2 separate regions of the Homo sapiens genome follow, and region 1 is linked to region 2. The links are contacts of gene promoters, found by promoter capture Hi-C in human tissues and cell types (Jung and others, 2019). All regions are on one chromosome and are shown on one strand. Each heading gives the region's core, a stretch centred on a gene start or on the middle of the fragment in contact. The rest is flanking DNA. Distances are from core to core; before and after follow the strand shown. Region 1 overlaps LINC02436 (long intergenic non-protein coding RNA 2436). Region 2 holds the start of HELT (helt bHLH transcription factor).

What was found. The method cuts DNA at HindIII sites, captures the fragments that hold promoters and counts their contacts. A contact is called where the count stands out against the background at its distance.
Region 1: a contact is called between a fragment that was not itself captured here and the fragment with the promoter of HELT in region 2, in 3 of the 25 tissues and cell types used here (H1 embryonic stem cells, aorta and liver).

Annotation. Positions count from the first base shown.
Region 1 is chr4:185,060,696-185,065,401 of GRCh38, forward strand. The region is part of intron 3 of LINC02436 (long intergenic non-protein coding RNA 2436); the gene reads left to right. Among named protein-coding and RNA genes, the nearest start is that of LINC02436, 11 kb to the left of the region's middle. The HindIII fragment of the contact is 4,120 bases long and covers 1-4,064 here.
Region 2 is chr4:185,016,157-185,020,641 of GRCh38, forward strand. HELT (helt bHLH transcription factor) reads left to right here and starts at 2,334. Exons shown (of 4, transcript NM_001300781.2): 1 at 2,334-2,799; 2 at 3,231-3,335; 3 at 3,591-3,687; 4 at 4,117-4,485. The coding sequence starts at 2,773. RefSeq lists enhancers at 1,584-2,164, 2,165-2,743, 2,744-3,323, 4,038-4,485. The HindIII fragment of the contact is 22,587 bases long and covers 1-4,485 here.

The DNA of each region.
Region 1 (4,706 bases), core at 755-3,254, 44 kb after region 2:
AAGAAATCAGATTTAAATTACAGTTACCTTTGAGGTAAGAATTATTATTACGATTTCATAGACAAAGGAACTGAAGCTTGAAGAGGTTAGACAACTTGTTCAGAATCCTACAACTCAACACCAAAAGCACAAACCATAAAAGAAAACATTGATAAGCTGGACTAGATCAAAATTTAAAACTTTTGTGCTTAAAAGACACCAATGGGCTGGGTGCAGTGGCTCATGACTGTAATCGCCAACACTTTGGGAGGCCAAGACCGGTGGATCCCTCGAGCCCAGCAGTTCAAAACCAGCCTGGGCAACATGGTGAGATCCCCATCTCTACCCAAAATACAAAAATAGCTGGGTGTGGTGGTGCACACTTGTAGTCCCAGCTACTCCGGGGGCTGAGGTGGGAGAATTACCTGAGCCCAGAAGGTCAAGCCGTAGTGAGCTGTGATTGTGCCATTGCACTCCAGCCTGGTTGACACAGTGAGACCCTGTCTCAAAAAAAAAAAAGACACGATTGAGAACATAAAAAGACAAGTCACAGGCTGGGATAAGATGTGTGCAAATCATATATGTGATAAAAGACTTAAATCTAGAATATATAGAGAGCATTTACAATGACCAACACATAGAAAGTTCTTGCCAAATGACCAAATTTTTTATATGAGCAAAAGATTTGAATAGACATTTTCCCAAAGGTGAAATGTCAATGTCTAATATATGAAGAAAAGATGCTCAAAACTATTATTCATTAGGGAAATGCAAATTAAAACCAGAAGAAGATACCTCTAGACACCCACTAGGATGGCTATGATGAAAAAGACAGACAATAACAAGTGTTGTTAAGGAAACAGGGAAATTGAAACCCTTATGTATTGCTACTAGGATTGTAAAATGGTACAGACACTTTGGAATGCAGTTTGGCAGTTTCTTAAAAACTTAAACAAACGAATAATACAACCCAGCAATTCTATTTCTAAGAATCTATCAGAAAAATGAAAATCCATGTCCACACAAAGACATGTACACAAAAGTTTATAGCACTATTATTCATGCTAGTCAAAAACTGGAAACAGTCTAAATAGCTATCCACTGATGAATGAATATGCAAAATATGGTACATTCCTACAATGGAATACTATTCAGCAATGAAAAGGAATGGATTTCTTTACATGCTACAACATGGATGAACTTTAAAACCATTAAGCGCAAGAAGTTAGACACGAAATACATACTGCATAATTGATTCCATTTATAGGAAATATCTAGTAAAAACAAACTTACAGAAGCAGAAAGCAGATGGAAATGTTCTAAAACTGGTTTGTGGTGGCAGTTCCACAACTCAACAAATTTACTAAAATCACTTACAATGGGTGAATTTTATCATACGTAAATTATACTTCAATAAACCTCCTTGTAAAATCACACGACTATTAAACGGTAGCACAAGTTGTAAAGAAAGTTATCTTCAAAGACCTATGATTAGTAAACCTACTCAAAGACATAGGATGTAGAATATATAAGTTGGTGCTGGAGTTCCTCCACCTCCCTAAAAATTAACAAGAAGCTTATTTGGGGGATTGTATTAAACAATCATACTTTAGTTAATTCTTTCATTAAAGGCCATTAGTTATTTTATAGCCTTTTACTGTGTTTTAGATGTCTCACAGTTTTACGTCAGTCTATTATATTCCCTGAAGACTTTGTTAAATATATACAGTGGATGTATTTTTGTGATTTTAGTTTAAATTTGCTTTATATGAATTCTTACAGTTGAAAACATTCAAGTACGGAATAAACTATTACTGCGAATACGCTCATATGACACAAGAACAATCTCTGAGCTTCTTTGAGGATGTCCAGATGACTGCTGACTGCACTAATTGCATCAATCGTGTATCCATACAGGTTCTTTCTATAAAATAGTGGTCGCTAGTTATGAGGCGTTAAGCCTTCATGGATATAAACAGACTATTCCACCTAAGTGATCTGGCAGAAGCTTAGTTTTCTACCACAACATCCACCGTCCTCCCTCCCTCCCTTCCTAGCTGGTCAGAAAAGCTACTCAGAATAAAGACTACATTTCCCAGCCATCTTTGCAGCTAGGTTTATCCACCTGACTAAATTCCACCGGTAAGATAAAAGCAGAAGTGTTTTTTTGTTTGTTTGTTTGTTTGTTTGTGACGGAGTTTTGTTCTTATTGCCCAGGCTGGAGTGCGATGGCACAATCTCGGCTCACCGCAGCCCCTGCCTCCTGGGTTCAAGTGATTCTCCTGCCTCAGGCTCCCGAGTAGCTGAGTTTACAGGCGTGCGCCACCACGCCCAGCTAATTTTGTATTTTTAGTAGAGACGGGGTTTCTCCATGTGGGTCAGGCTGGTCTCGAACTCCCGACTTCAGGTGATCCGCCCGCCTCAGCCTCCCAAAGTGCTGGGATTACAGGCGTGAGCCACCGCGCCGAGCCTAAGCAGAAGTGTTTGCAAGTGCCCTGAGAATCGTGCTTAAAGGGAACAGACTCAGCTAGAAAGAAGCCCTTTCCACCATTCCACCTTTTCCCCTTCTTCAGGCCTGCCACAAGAATACGAAGGCCAGAGCTCCAGCAGCTGTTGGAGCCACGATGTGACCCTGAAGGCAGGAAACTCAGCTTTGGAAGGTAGAGAGCCTGGGTAATACCTGGAGCCGCCACATCAGCATGGGCTGCTGCCTCCATTCTTCTCTTATGGAACAGAAAAACATGCTTCTGTCCTGTTTAAGACATAGGGGCCAAGTTTCTTTTACTCACACAGAGCCTCATCCTAAGTGACACAAGGTCTAACAGAAAAAGATCCAATGGAATCCTTTCTCTAAGGAATGAGCGGAGAGAGGAGAGCAAGGCAATGAAGTTCTTTTTTTTTTTTTCCAGATGGAGTTTTCGCTCTTGTCGCCCAGGCTGGAGTGCAATGGCACAATCTCGGCTCACGGCAACCTCCATCTCCTGGGTTCAAGCAATTCTCCTGCCTCAGCCTTCCAGCCTCCCAAGTAGCTGGGATTACAGGCATGCACCACAACGTCTGGCTAATTTTTTTGTATTTAGTAGAGACAGGGTTTCACCATATTAGTCAGGCTGGTCTCGAACTCCTGATCTCAAGTGATCCACCCACCTTGGCCTCCCAAAGTGCTGGGATTATAGGCGTGAGCCACTGCACCTGGCCGGAAGTGAGGTTATACAGCAGCATGTCTGTGAGGCCTCAGCAGAGAGGTCCAGTCACACTCAGTAGCCATGGTTAACGACTACACCTGCTATGCTGGAAACCACCTCAATAACGAGATTCATAGAACTATACTTAATAACTGCTCCCTAGTGATACAGCAAAAGGTGAATACATACACATCAAATGTTCACGTCCCAAATCTGGTTTATTTCTTCCAACATAAAGATTGGAGAATTATTGTAAGGTGAAAGCTAAGTCCATCAAGGAGTCCCTGAAATGCTGATCTAATCAGAAGAAGCTTCTTAAAATTCTCAAACTCTGCAGTTTCTTAAAATTCTTAAAAATACAGTGCTTGTTGACCATATGTAAGATGAATATATTATCTAGATCCTCTGTCTTTTCTCTGAATTATGTACCACTCAGACTTAGACTCACCAAGACCTACATGTGCTAGGCCTCTCACGTGCTAGTTAATGAACATAATATAGTAGCTATCTTAATGCCATGTGCAGATAAATGTTTCATGATTTTTTTGTGTGAGAAAAATGTGAATTTTTTTTTTTTTTTTTTTAGGCAGGACCTTGCTCTGTCACCCAGGCTGTAGTGCAATGGTGTGATCTCAGCTTACTGCAGCCTCAACCTCCTGGGCTCAAGTGATCCTACCACAGCTTCCTGAGTAGCTGGGACTACAGGTGTGTGCCACCACACCTGGTTAATTTATTTTATTTTATTTTTGTAGAGATAGGGTCTCACTATGTTGCCCAGGCTGGTCTTCAACTCTTGGCCTCAAGTGATTCTCTTGCCTCAGCCTCCCAGAGGGCTGGGATTATAGGCATGAGCCACCACGTCCAGCCTAAATGTGATGAGTTTTAGACCTATGATAATGGTTTGCTGGTGGTAGTACAGGGCAGATAATGCATATGCCAGTATCTTCAGTGAGGAATTGCTGCAAAGCATAGGTGGGTTCACTGGTGGAATAGAGTGTGGATTGGTAGTTTGGGCTCTAGTGCAGATGTATTGCCAATTTTAGGCTTAGAGATCTAACAAACATACTTAGATTCACACAAACATTAATTCCTGCCCTCATATCATATGGCCGGCTCTCAAGATGATGCCGAAGAAAGACAAGAAGCATATGTGGTCAACATGGAAGTTTAATTTGGACCTTACTCATTCAATAGAAGATGGAACTTTTGATTCTGGAAATTTTGAACAGTTTCTAAAAGGTTAAAATCAATGGAAAAACTGAAAATCTCACAGATGTTGTTAACAGTGAATGCTTCAAAAATAAAATCACAGTTGTTTCTGAGAAACAATTTTCTAAAAGGTCCTTAAAATGCCTCACCAAGAAATACCTTAGGGAGAACAATCTTCGTGATTGGCCTTGAGTGGCTGCATCCTGCAAGGAGCCTCACTGACCTCACTGCCTCCCCATCAGTCACAGTGAAGATGGGTGAGCCTGAGGAGCAGGTAAAGCTTCCTTCCAGGGCTTTGCTTACCAATACAACAAATCGAGCATACACGAGAAA
Region 2 (4,485 bases), core at 1,084-3,583:
AGGTAGTGCTGCAGCCGCGCAAGGACCGGGCGAGGCTGCGCCCCTGAGCCCAAGTCTCCACTCACCGGCCTTCCCTTGCCCCCTCACCTGCACGCGGGTACTTTTAGCCCTGGGCAAGCCTTGAGCCAAGCGCCGAGACCAAACCCGGGAAATTAAACAGTGTGCATGGAATGAAATGTGGTCCGTGGAAGGTGCCTGCAGCTGGCGGTTAACACCGGCAGTAAGAGGATCAACGCCCGGGCCGCTGGCTTAAAAATGGGAGTGGGAGTGCGAAGTGTGCGCGCTCCTTTTTACCCATTCACGTTAGTTAATTTGGATGATAAGGGTTCGCGTTTAATCTCTTTGTGTGCGAGTGAATATCCTGAAATCGACAACCCCTGAGAGGGCACTCGCGGCTGGCAGAGCAACCTGGGAGGGTGCGGATCGTGTCCAATCTGGCGTGAAGCAGAAAGGAAACATCGTGAGGAGACTAGAGGCAGGACCGAGAGGGACACCCTAGGGGTGCGAGGTGCAGACCGAGCCCTCACATCTCCCAGGCCGCAGCAGGTGGGCCGATGGCTTCCCCGAGGCCTGGCACCCCAGGCCTGGCTCTGCGCCCTGAGGCTCCCAGGTCCCACCAGCTAGAAGAGCGCCGCCTACCCACCCCTGCCAAGGTCTAACGACCCCAAGGGGGGCGCTGGGCCCTGCCATCTCCCTGCAGAACAGAGAGAATTTAGGCAGGGTTAGGGGCAGGCAGAAAAGAAGAAAAATCTGAGAAGCGGTCTCAGCTGTTCCCAGATGGAAAAGATTAGAGAGGTGAGAGTTCGGTGGCTCTAGAAAGGGCCATAAAACAAAAATCATTTTTATCGTTTCAATCTGCAAGAAAGCTCACCCCCCACCCACACCCCACAAGCTCAGAGCCCCCAGAGTATAGGATCCGAGGCAGCAAGTGTGAGCGAGGCCCGTCCTGGGGGAGGTGGCCTCTGGCCGCGGGGCCAGGTTGCCCTCAGAGGCGCAGGCGGCCAAGAGAGTTCCCAGCCGCCGCCGCCCCCCTCCTTCCCCTTGGGCCCGTCCAGCAAATTTCCTCCCTCGTTTCTGTTCGTGCCTTCCCTCCCTCCTCCTCCCCCCGATATTTTCGCTTTCTAAAACCATAAAAAAGAGATCAACTTCCCAAACTTCACAGGGCCCTTTTCAGTGACAAATATTGATGCCCAAAGTGTCTGCGCTCTCCCGCCCCCAAACGTTAAGAAAAGACGCCAGCGAAAGGGAGACATAAAAAGTTAACAATGCTGTGAAAATATGTTTGCAGAAAATAGACAATCGTTGGATTAAACGTATTCAAGTATGAAATAATGCCTTTTTGTGTCAAAACTTGGGCGATGGGCGGGTACAAAAGTTCCCTGTGGCAGCTACTTGCTCCCTTTGTGAGCCGTGCGCTTTGGCGTCTCCACTTGGGCGCATTACTCAGAGCCCTCTAAGCGCGATTGTTTCTCCCTTTCTAATGACATTTACCGGATCAAAACATGCTGTTAATTCGATCAGAAGGCTTCACCCTCCCTGACAAAGCCACAATAATTTCTCCTGAAGTTTGTTAAATTGACCAAAATTAGGCAAATGAATAGGGGTCTGTAGGCGCCCCCTCTCGCAGGTGACGTTGCATAATGCTTGCCTGGGCCAGCTGCATTCCCCCTTTTCTTCTCGGCCCACTCTTCTCCGTGTTGCCCCCCAATCCTCCCACCCGCCCCTTCACACACAAACACACACACACGCCCGCCAGTCTCTCCTCCCCCACCCTCTGGCATTATTAAAATTTAGCCCAATGAAACTATTCATACTTTTCAATGGACATTTTCGTATAGGATAATAGGCTACAAATTGAGCCTCTTCCCCCCGCGAAGAGGGAGCAGGAGGGGTGGGGAGAAAAGAAAGCCAGCGACGTGGTCAGGGAGTAGGGGGGAGCGTCGCGTGCCAAACAGCGGCGGGAGGGGCGAGGCGAGGCGAGGCGGGAGCCTCGTGTGCCAGCCGCAGCCCCACACCTGCCGGGATGTCCGGACAAATAAAGCGGTGTAAACAAAAAGGGGGGAGAAGGACGTGTCACCAAGTCGTGTGAGAAAAGCCTGGGAACAAACGGGGCGCCTCCGTCTCCAAGAGCTCTCCCTTGAACCCGGCGGAACAGCCTATTAAAGGCTTACTTAATTACTTTAATGACTCTGGACAGGCTTTAAAACGCACTCGGCGCTGGGACGGCGGGCTTGCTGGGATTTGTAAACAGGCGATCATGTGAGACTCAGCGGTGGGACTAAAAGAGGCGACACTGTTTTGTGAGGGTCCTCGCCCCCCGGTGCCCGCGGCCGCTGCGCCCCTGCGCTCCGCGCCCGCGACTGCTGCAGGCGCTTGCTCGCCCGCCGGCCCCAGTTTACCGCCTCCTTTTCCCGCCCGAGCTGTTGCCATGCAAATGTTATTCCTGGGCCGATCACGTGTCCTTTGAAGGGCCACGTGGATTAACAAAGCTGATCTGCCCCCAGCTCGCCCCCCTCGGCTGCTAATTTTTTTTTTTTCTTAACTTCTTTAAAACTGATCTTGAATGCATACATCCTCCAAACGCAGCTCCCCTAATCCTATGGAATAATTCAACTCGTGAATGCATCTGGAGCCCTAGATGACCGCTTTATAAGGCAGCCCTCGGAGTTGGGAGGCTGCAGTCTACCTGGGACACTCGAGGAGGCACACGAGGCGGAAAAGTGGACGGGTGCCCCGCGCCACCGCCTCTCCCGAGGGCGCGTACTGACCAGGATGTCAGACAAGCTCAAGGAACGCAAAGTGAGTCGGCTGAGCCCAAATGGCACTTGCGCCCTGGTGGTGGAGGCATCTGACTCACCGACCCGCCACTTGGGTGGACCGATGGCAGGGAAGTGCCCGCACGGGACTTTGAGTGTGGAGGAATCTCGAGTGGTTTGGGAAGGGGGTGGGGTAGAGAGAGGAGGGTGCTCAACCAGGTAGAAGTCCTGCCTGGAGGCTGGCGGCCACCTCCCCAAAGGCCTGGGTAGGGTGGCTGGAAGGGGAGCGCGCCAGCGCGGGCGTCAGAAGGCAGAGCTCACCTGGCCCGAGCGTGGCGGGCCAGGAGTCCCTTCCTAGAGCGAATCTGAGCAGTGTGCGCGGCTGGAGAGGCGGCTTGCACCCAGCTGCTAGAGCCGCGCCTTTGACGACTTCCCGGGCAAAGCCATCCTAAACATACAACCCTCTCTTCGCAGAGAACCCCCGTTTCTCATAAAGTGATAGAAAAGCGGAGGAGGGACAGGATCAACCGCTGCTTGAACGAGCTGGGCAAGACAGTGCCCATGGCCTTGGCGAAGCAGGTAACGTTGGCGACCCGGAGCCGGGTGCCAGGCGTTGGGAGGCCTCTGCGGCCACTCTGCGGAGACGCCCGAGCCCGCGGACACAGAGGACCTCACTTGCGGGCCCCTCCCAGGCGGGGGGCCTGAGCGCAGGGCGAACCTCAGGAGGCTCTGGCGCAGATCCGCAGCCGCGTCCGCTCGCTGGTCCTCTCCAGCGCCACAGTGCCCGACCAGCAGGCGCTGGGCCGCTGCGAGGGGCCCTTCCTCCTTTTGCAGAGTTCCGGGAAGCTGGAGAAGGCGGAGATCCTCGAGATGACCGTTCAGTACCTGAGAGCACTGCACTCCGCTGATTTTCCCCGGGGAAGGGAAAAAGGTGGGCACAGGTTAGGGAATGGGACGCCTGGGCCAGGCGCCTGCGCCACCCAGAGACCCTGGGGCTGGGAGGGGAGTGACTGAGTGTTCCCGAGAGCTCTACTAGAGCTCCACTCTCCAGGAGGGCAGGGGTCCTGCGAAGGCGCCTCTCCCTGCTCGGCGACAGCAAGGCGGCGAGGGAGAACTGGTTCCCAGGGAGGCTGGTTCCACCTCCTTCTCCCGGGTGGGGTGGGTGGGGTCAGGCTCTCAGGGAAAGAGGGCGTTTGCGCGTGCCTCGCCAGTCTCTAAGACTGCGCAGAGGAGAGGGCGGGCCTCAAATGGGAACTTTGGCCAGAAAATGTGGTGGGAGGTGCCCTGCACCCGCTTTGGGCTCGCGTGGGGAAGGGGCACTCAGGGTGTGTCCGTCCTACGGGCTTTCTCGTTCCTCCAGCAGAACTTCTAGCGGAGTTTGCCAACTACTTCCACTATGGCTACCACGAGTGCATGAAGAACCTGGTGCATTACCTCACCACGGTGGAGCGGATGGAGACCAAGGACACGAAGTACGCGCGCATCCTCGCCTTCTTGCAGTCCAAGGCCCGCCTGGGCGCGGAGCCCGCCTTTCCGCCGCTGGGTTCGCTCCCGGAGCCGGATTTCTCCTATCAGCTGCACCCTGCGGGGCCCGAATTCGCTGGTCACAGCCCGGGCGAGGCCGCTGTGTTCCCGCAGGGCTCTGGTGCCGGGCCTTTCCCCTGGCCGCCTGGCGCGGCCCGCAGCCCCGCGCTGCCCTACCTGCCCAGCGCGCCAGTGCCGCTCGCTA